Regions from separate parts of the Homo sapiens genome. Here regions 2 and 3 are each linked to region 1. The links are contacts of gene promoters, found by promoter capture Hi-C in human tissues and cell types (Jung and others, 2019). All regions are on one chromosome and are shown on one strand. The core of a region is centred on a gene start or on the middle of the fragment in contact, and the rest is flanking DNA. Distances in the headings are between cores, read along the strand shown. Region 1 holds the start of EIF4H (eukaryotic translation initiation factor 4H). Region 2 has its middle 6.3 kb from the start of METTL27. Region 3 overlaps GTF2IRD1 (GTF2I repeat domain containing 1).

The links. Contacts are between HindIII fragments. The study calls those that stand out against the background at their distance.
Region 2: a fragment that was not itself captured here is called in contact with the fragment with the promoter of EIF4H in region 1 in 1 of the 25 tissues and cell types used here (IMR-90 fibroblasts).
Region 3: a fragment that was not itself captured here is called in contact with the fragment with the promoter of EIF4H in region 1 in 2 of the 25 tissues and cell types used here (dorsolateral prefrontal cortex and lymphoblastoid cells).

What each region holds. Positions count from the first base shown.
Region 1 is chr7:74,172,903-74,175,911 of GRCh38, forward strand. EIF4H (eukaryotic translation initiation factor 4H) reads left to right here and starts at 1,454. Exons shown (of 7, transcript NM_022170.2): 1 at 1,454-1,540. The coding sequence starts at 1,482. RefSeq lists a silencer at 1,205-1,714 and enhancers at 1,217-1,511, 1,493-2,006, 2,007-2,519. The HindIII fragment of the contact is 15,155 bases long and covers 1-3,009 here.
Region 2 is chr7:73,847,483-73,850,182 of GRCh38, forward strand. No RefSeq gene overlaps it. Among named protein-coding and RNA genes, the nearest start is that of METTL27, 6.3 kb to the left of the region's middle. The HindIII fragment of the contact is 7,829 bases long and covers 1-2,700 here.
Region 3 is chr7:74,584,172-74,587,213 of GRCh38, forward strand. All of the region lies in intron 22 of GTF2IRD1 (GTF2I repeat domain containing 1), which reads left to right. Among named protein-coding and RNA genes, the nearest start is that of MIR10525, 10 kb to the right of the region's middle. RefSeq lists an enhancer at 3,029-3,042. The HindIII fragment of the contact is 6,527 bases long and covers 1-3,042 here.

The DNA.
Region 1 (3,009 bases), core at 204-2,703:
TACTTAAAAGCCAGTAGATCGAGACAAACCTGGGCAACATAGTGAGACTCTGTCTCTACAAATAAATGTTTTACAAAGCAAATTAGAGCCAGGCACGGTGGCTCATGCCTGTAATCCCAGCACTTTGGGAGGCCAAGGCGGGTGGATCTCAGTTCAAGACCAGCCTGGGCAACATGGTGAAACGCTGTCTCTACTAAAAATACAAAAATTAACTGGGTGTGGTGGTGCACGTCTGTCACCCCAGTTACTCGGGAGACAGAGGCAGGAGAATTGCTTGAACCGAGGAGGTGGAGGTTGCAGTGAGATGAGATTGCGCCACTGCACTCCAACCTGATTCTCCATCTCAAAAAAAAAAAAAAAAAAATGCAAATTAGGCGAGGTACTGCCCGCCTATAGTCCTAGCTACTCCAGAGGCTAAGGCGGCAGGATGGCATGAGCCCAAGAGGTCAAGGCTGCCGTGAGCTACCACTGTTCCACCGCAGTCCAGCCTGGGCGACAGAGCGAGACCCTGTCTCAACAACGAACCAATAAATACATAATAAAAAGTAATGGTTAAGCGGAAGATACCTAGGTACACATCACAACAAAATTCTATGAGGTTCTTTCAAAGTGTGCTTAGATAATTAAGGTTTGTCAACATCGTGGCATCCACAATTACTACCATCTCAATCACAAACCTGGAAATTTACCCGTGTAATTAATTCCCACTGCATAACCATGTTTTGTTATTGCTAGATGATGGAATCCACAACAGTATCCAATTCTTTTTCCAAGGCAACGACTTCTGCAAAAAACCGAGATGTGCAGTCTCTCTTGCTAAGTCACCGATCACCTATACTCTCTCCTCTCAAAACCCCCCAATACCCAGGCAGCGAGTAAGCCCTGGAAGGCAGGATTCGTGTCTGCATCCCACCGCCTCGCACCCCCTTCCGGGGCATCCTCATCGTGTGGCCAGCTCCTGCCTGGAGAAGGAGGTGGCCTTTACTTGGGTGTCACCCGGGGACCACTTGGGGGTCCAAGCGGGACAGGCCTCCGAGGTCCCCGCCATGTATGGAGGCCGAAAGGCAGCGTCCCAGGCGAACTGGAGAGGGAGTTCCCCCCAGCTCTCCAGGTCACCTCCCGCCGACGGACGGAAAGGCCGGCGCGCACGGGCGTGGTGCGGCGGGGATAGGAGGCAGCCACGGGCGCACCCCAGGGCCAGCACATAATGGGCCGCGTAGGCCGGGCAGGCGTCCAGCTGGGACGCCGCCGCACCACGTGGGCTGCAGAGCGCACGGGGCAGGCAGCTGCCGGTGGGCCCAGGGCCGGGCGCTGCGCGGCCAGCGTCCGTGCGTGCGTGCGCGCGCGCGCGTGCGCGTGCCTGCGTCCAAGGGATTTGCGATCAGGCGGCGCGGCGGACAGCCCCGGCGGCGGGGCGGGGGGAGTTATATTGCGGGGTCCTTCCTCGCTCACCCTGGTTCCTCTCGGAGCGGAGACGGCAAATGGCGGACTTCGACACCTACGACGATCGGGCCTACAGCAGCTTCGGCGGCGGCAGAGGGTGAGGCGGGCGTGCGCGGGCCCCGTCGGGGGCTGCGGGACCGGCGGAGTCGGGGCCGTCAGGGTGGCGGCCGTCCTGCGCTCAGCCGGGGCGGCGGGAGGCGGGGGCCCGCGGAGGCCTAGGAGCGGCGCCTGGAGGGCCGGGGCCTGGAAATGGCGCGCTCGGAGACGGGGCGGCGGCGGCTGGGCTCCCGGGGTCTTGCTTGCGGGGCGGATCCCTTCCACTGCCTCCCGCCAACGACAACGTGTTGGTTTTTGCCCTGCCTTGGCCGCGGCGGCGCCGATGCCCGGAGACGAGCGCCCGCTTCCAGCCCCATCCCCCCTACGGTAGGACCAGTGCGGGGCTGAGCTGTGGCGCTGGGGTACGGGCCACACGGCCTGCCCCGCTCCGGTCCCGGCCTCTTTCGCGGCCCTCTGTTGCCTGCCCGCCTTGCAGGCCCCTGGCCCCTTCGCCACGAGGCCGGCCGACTGGGGAAGGTCGGCAGCCAAGAGGGGCGATTCCCTTCCCCTTACGTGTGAGGCAGGGATTTGGCGGCTCTGGCCCGGGGATGGTACGACTCCTTGCGGGCGGGGGGAGACCAAGGAGATAAATCCATCGTAGCTTCTTTGTATTAATCTTTCTTGGGTCACAGTGCCTTGACAGGTGCTACGTGCTCTTTGGCACAATTTCATTTCTCCTTGGTTTCTCGCTCTGATCTGGAGAAGGAACCGCATTTAGCGTCGTCCTGATTGTTGTCAAATGCAGACAACTATGTATAATTGAAACACTTTGCTTAAAAGAAACATCTTTGAATAGAGAGCTCATGGTGTTTAATTCCAGGACTCTGCACTTTTTTTTATTTTATTTTTTAAATACAAGTTGCCTCGTTAGAATATAGGCTATGAACATCTTGCTGTTTGTCAAGGACACACTTGGGCTTTGTGTTTTCTTGCAGAAAGGATTACTTTCCCAGGATAACACCACAATAATACACACTGAGGTGTTCAGTCTCCTGGGTTGCAGTCCAAAAGTATCTTTGTTTGGTAAAGAATGATCACTTTTAATACCTTGGTTTGGGAACGGCTCAGACAAAAGCTTGTTTCGGGGCAGGAGTGTAGCTAATGTTCATGATACTGTAACGTGGAAGTGTGCCGGTGTAGGTGGAGCTATTGTCATTCCAAAGAACATTTTATTTGCTAATAAAAAAAGAAGTAAATGTTGGATGACATGAAATTATCGCCTTTGGGTTAGGTTTCTAAACATCAAATTTGTTCTCAAGTCATTTCGAAATTTAATAACTAGGGTTTTTTTTTTTTTCCTAGTTCCAAAAAACGTTCACAGAAGTACCCAGAAAAATTCTTCTTAAACAGCGTGGTCAATTTAAGTTTTAGTTGCATTGGGACTACAATAAGGTGACCTTATTAAACTGAGTGTGGGGATTTAAAAAAATTTCCTTCAGACACATTTGCCAGCTCTTCTGGTGTCAAATT
Region 2 (2,700 bases), core at 98-2,597, 330 kb before region 1:
GTTTTCAGGCTGGAGTGCAGTGATACAATCCTAGCTCACTGCAGCCTCTACGTCCTGGGCTCAAGCAATCCTTCTGCCTCAGCCTCCTGGGTAGCTGGGACTCCAGGTGCTTGCCACCAAGCCTGGTTAATTAAAAAAAAAAAATTGTAGAGATGGGGTCTTGCTATGTTGCCTAGGCTGGTCTCCAATTCCTGGGCTCAAGCCATCCTCCCTCCTTGGCATTCAAAATGCTGGGATTACATGTGTGAGGAACCTACCTGGCCTTTCTCTTTCTTTCTATGGGAGGAGGGTATTTCCAGAAGCCACAGAAGCTGGGAAACTGTGATCTGGCACTTTGAGGCTCAGGTGTGGGGTGTGAGCTTTCCATCCAGGAAGGAGGGAGGGGAGAATGGCTTGTGGTACTGTTCCCAGACCAAACTGAGGGTCGGGCTGCTACTTCTTGTGGCCCAATAACGAGATGCACACAAACTGGGGAGGAAGAGAGTTTTTATTTCTGTAACCGTTTACAGGGAGAAGGCGTGGAAATTATCACCCGACTAACTCAAAGTTACAAAGTTTTCCAGAGCTTATACACCTTCTAAGCTATACGTCTATGTGTAAGTGTGCATTCATCTGAAGACATAAGTGATTAATTTCTTTTAATCCATGACTAAGGTCTGAGTCCCGAAGCTCTTCCTCTGGAACCTCAGTAAATTTACTTATCTAAATGGGTCCAGGTGCTGGGGTGATTCCTGTTATCTCCTGCTAAATCATGGAGGTTTGAGGAGTTCCTTCAGACCGCCAATAAATTTGTTTGTGGAGGCCTGGGGAGTTTCTTCAGACCCAAAATAAAACTTGCTTAATTCTAAATGGTCCTGTTAAGAATTCCTTCATTATTTTGTCGTGATTTAAGGCCCAGGAAAGGCCTGGGCAAAACTCTTGGTGGGCTTTTGTTACATCCCAGCCTTTGTATAAGGGCACTGGCTTTTAATATTTAAATTAACCACTCAGTCAGTACTGAAACAGTTGTTGGGGAGACCTGGCCTGCCACAGTGCGGGCTCCTGTGCTGCTCCTGGGGTGTGAGGGCGTGTGTTCCTTCATGTGCACCTGTGTGATGAGCGGGGAATGTTACAGGTGTCCATTTTGATGTGTGCAGGACCCAGGCCATGGAGAGCTTGGTCCCCAGGCTATGGACTCCCTCCCTTCCTTCCTTCCTTCCTTCTTTTCTTTTTCTTTCTTTCTTTTCTTTCCTTCCTTCCTTCTTTCTTTCTTTCTTTCTTTCTTTCTTTCTTTCTTTCTTTCTTTCTTTCTTTCTTTCCTTTCCTTTCCTTTCCTTTCCTTTCCTTTCCCTCCCTCCCTCCCTTTCTTCCTTCCTTTCTTCCTTCCTTCCTTTCTTGATGGAGTCTCACTCTGTTGCCCAGGCTGGAGTGTAGTGGTGCAATCTTGGCTCACTGCAACCTCTGCCTTCTGGGTTCAAGCAATTCTCCTGCCTCAGCCTCCCAAGTAGCTGGGACTACAGGCATGTGCCACCACGCCCAGCTAATTTTTTTTGTATTTTTAGTAGGGATGGGGTTTTGCCACGCTGGCCAGGCTGGTCTCAAACTCTTGACCTCAGGTGATCTGCCTGCCTCGGCCTCCCAAAGTGCTGGGATTACAGGCATGAGCCACCACGCCTGGTCTATGGACGTGCTTTCTAACCCTGAATGTGTAATGGGGAGTTGTGGCTTCAGATTTGCATTTTACCAAGATGGCTCCAGAAGGCGGCAGGGAGAGCCAGCTGGGTGAACCGCAAGTTCCGAGGCTGTTGCAGTTACTTGGCAAGAGCTGGAGTGTCAAGAGTCAGGGGCTGCTGAGGAGGGGGTGACCTTGGTGCTGATGGGGTGTGGGGGCTGTTGAGGACCAGATGGCAACTTCCCTTCCTTGGAGTTTTCTTCCTACCTCATCTTCTTCACCGCCTCCTCCTTGCTCTTCTCCTACCTCTAAGCTTAGGAGAGGCCCCCGGCTCTGTCCTGGGTCTTCTTCCTTCTCTGTGTACACCCACTTCCTAGGTGATCTCATCTAGTCCCGTGGTTTTAAATACTGTTTATTTGTGGGTGACTCCCAAATTGATGACTTCTAGTCTTGGCTCTCCCCTGAACTCTGGACTTGTTCACCCAGCCATGAAACTGACATCTCCTTGGAGGCCACAGGTCTGGCAACGAGCCCAGACCCGAGAGTGATTCTTTCCACTCCCAAATCTGCTCCTCTTCAGGGCCCGTCTCTGCAAATGCCCCTGAACCACCTTGCACTCAGGGGCTCAGCTCAAGCTGTTTTTCTCCCATCTCGCACCCTGTTCATCAGCAAATCCTGTGGACTCAAACTACACCAGCCAGGTGCGGTGGCTCACACCTGTAATCCCAGTACTTTGGGAGGCCAAGGTGGGTGGATCACTTGAGATCAGGAGTTCAAGACCAGCCTGGCCAACATGGCAAAACCCTGTCTCTACTAAAAGTACAAAAATTATCCAGGGATGGTGGTGCATGCCTGTAATCCCACCTACTTGGGAGGCTGAGGCAGGAGAATCACTTGAACCGGGGAGGCAGAGGTTGCAGTGAGCCAAGATCACGCCATTGCACTTCAGCCTGGGCAACACAGCAAGACTCTGTCTGAAAAAACTAAAAGAAAAAAAAGAAGAAGAAAATCTCAAACACACACAAAAGAAGAGACTAGTGTAATAACTC
Region 3 (3,042 bases), core at 442-2,941, 410 kb after region 1:
GGGCCTGGGTACGGTGGCTCACAGCACTTTGGGAGGCCAAGCCAGGTGGATCACCTGAGGTCAGGAGTTCGAGACTGGCCTGGGCAGCATAACAAAACCCCATCTCTACTAAAAATACAAAAAATTAGCCAGGTGTGGTGGCGGGTACCTGTAATCCCAGCTACTCTGGAGGCTGAGGCACGAGAATCACTCGAACCCGGTAGGCGGAGGTTGCAGTGAGCCAAAATCATGCCACTGCACTCCAGCCTGGAAAACAGGGAGACTCTGTCTCGAAAAATAAAAAAATAAAGGGGGAAGAGGAATAGTTAATGATGTATTTATCCTGTGCTCAGTAAATCTGCCTTTTACATAAGATAAAGTAAATAGAGTAGAGGAAGTCATATAGGCATTTGTCTTGGGTAGACAGAGCAATGATTTCTATTCTTATCTTTGTCCCCTGCCTGTGAAGATAAGCTGTGAATTTACATGGCCAGGGTGAGGGAGGCCACCAGGGGAGCTAGGTGGCCTTCTATCTTGCAGCCATCTGTTTAGGAACAAAAGGCTATTGCGTGACTCAGTTCCCAAGCTTAACATTTCCCTTTGGCATAGTAAGTTTGGGGTCCCATGTTTTTTGTTTGTTTGGGTTTTTTGTGTGTTGTTGTTGTTTTGAGATGAAGTCTCGCTCTTGTCCCCCAGGCTGGAGTACGATGGCGCGATCTTGGCTCTCTGTAACCTCCGCCTCCCAGGTTTAAGCGATTCTCCTGCCTCCGCCCCCGGAGTAGCTGGGATTACAGGCACCTGCCACCACGCCTGGCTAAATTTTGTACTTTTAGTTGAGACGGGGTTTCACCACGTTGGACAGGCTGGTCTCGAACTTCTGAGCTCAGGTGATCCACCCACCTCGGCCTCCCAAAGTGCTGGGATTACAGATGTGAGCCACCGCGCCCAGCCTGTTTGGTGTTTTTTTTTTTTTTTTTTTTGAGACGGAGTCTTGCTCTGTCGCCTAGGCTGGAGTGCAGTGGCGCAATCTCAGCTCACTGCAACCTCCACCTCCCAGTTCAAGGGATTCTCCTGCTTCAGCCTCCTGAGTAACTGGGATTACAGGCATGCACCACCACGCCCAGCTAATTTTTTGTATTTTTAGTAGAGACGGGGTTTCACCATGTTGGCCAGGCTGGTCTGGAACTCCTGACCTCAAGTGATCCACCTGCCTCGGCCTCTGAGAGTGCTGGGATTATAGGCGTGAGTCACCGTGCCCGGTCTGGGCCTCGTCTTTGAGAGGCCTGCTAAGCTTCTTTCTGTCCTGCAGGTTTCGTAGAGCTCTGACTTTGAGTCTCGCTCTGTCCCGACACAGGAGAAGACAGAGGTGTGGCATTGTGGGCTGAGAGCAACAGATTAGAGGAAACTATCTTAAAGATTAAGCCTTCTTTCTACAGCTACTGTAGGGGAGCCTGGGCATGGTGGTTCACGTCTGTAATCCCAGCACTTTGGGAGGCCGAGGTGGGCGAATCACCTGAGGCCAGGAGTTGGAGACCAGCCTGAGTAACATGGTGAAACCCCATCTCTACTAAAAATACAAAAATCAGCCAGGTGTGATGGTGGGTGCCTGTAATCCCAGATACTCGAGAGGCTGAGGCAGGAGAATCACTTGAACCCAGCAGGCAGAGGTTGCAGTGAGCCAAGATCGCACCACTGCACTCCAGTCCAGCCTGGGTGACAGAGCAAGACTCTTCCAAAAAAAAAAAGAAAAAGAAAGAAACTGTAGAGGAATCTGAGACCTCAGGAAACCCAGGGCTCATGGTAGAGTGGAAAGACCAGGGCTTTGGGGTTGACACAGAGTACTCCTGGTGCTTAGAGGCTGTGTGACCTTGGGCAAGTTTCTTTACCTCTCTGAGCCTCTGTGTCTTTGGCTGCAGTGTCTAGGAAAGCATCTGCACACAGTGATGTGTGTGATCCAGGCCATCCTTTCTCTGTTCTGTGCATGCATGGCCATGCCTGCTGAGAATCCTGCCACCAAAGATTCCTCAGTGGCATGGGGACAGATGGAATGTGCTGTTGCTTCCCTGCAGGCTCTAGGAGCTGGTCCTTGGGCCCAGGACTCCATCACTGTTGTCTGCATGGATTTGGACAAGGGTGGCCTTGATTCTTCCCACATCCTAGTCCTGAAAGGAAGGCCCGTGTTGGGTCACAGGAGAAGACGAGGGTTCTAGGGGATGTGGAGCGTGGGGTCTTTGTGTGGCTGAATTAGAGGCATTACTCCACGAGATAGGGACACGGGAGGAGGACGTTGTCTGGAATGGCTGATGTTTGCAGTGTCTCTGGGCACGCAGGGGGGCTGGCGGGCCGTGCCTGAAGACAGATCAGCAACTCAGAGATGTGCAGAGATTGCTGAGTGTGGGTGTGGACGGACCAGGCCAGGGACCTGCAGGGTTTGGGAGGACCTGAGGTGGTGGGTGTTGGAGCCCTGGGAAAAGGAGGAACCAGGCCAAGCAGGTGCCCAGCCTCTGTCCTGTGGGAAGCTCCCTGCTCTTTGGGGCAACCCCCACATGGGGAACAGGGCCTCCATTCTGGCAGCTTGCGCACGGGAGGCCAAGCCACCCAGACGGGGTCAGCAGACTCTAAGCAGCACAGAGCACCACGCCAGGAGATGCAGTTCCCAAGGCAGCCTCCTAAACAGAAGTGAGCTCTTCCCAGAGTTTTCAAGATTAAAAGAGCCAGACACAGTGGCTCACAACTGTAATCCCAGCACTTTCGGAGGCTGCGGACAGGAGGATCGCTTGAGCTTAGGAGTTCGAGAACAGCCTGTGCAACAGAGAGAGACTCTCTCTACAAAAAATTTTAAAAAAACTTAGTCTGGCATGGTGATTCATGCCTGGAGCCCCAGCTACTTGAGAGGCTGAGTGGGGAGGATTGCTTGAGCCAAAGAGTTCAAGGCTGCAGTGAGCTATGATGGCACCACTGTACTCCAACCTGGGAAACAGGGTGAGACCCTGTCTCAAAAAACAGGAGTCAGGCTGGGCACAGTGGCTCACGCCTGTAATCCCAGCACTTTGGGAGACCGAG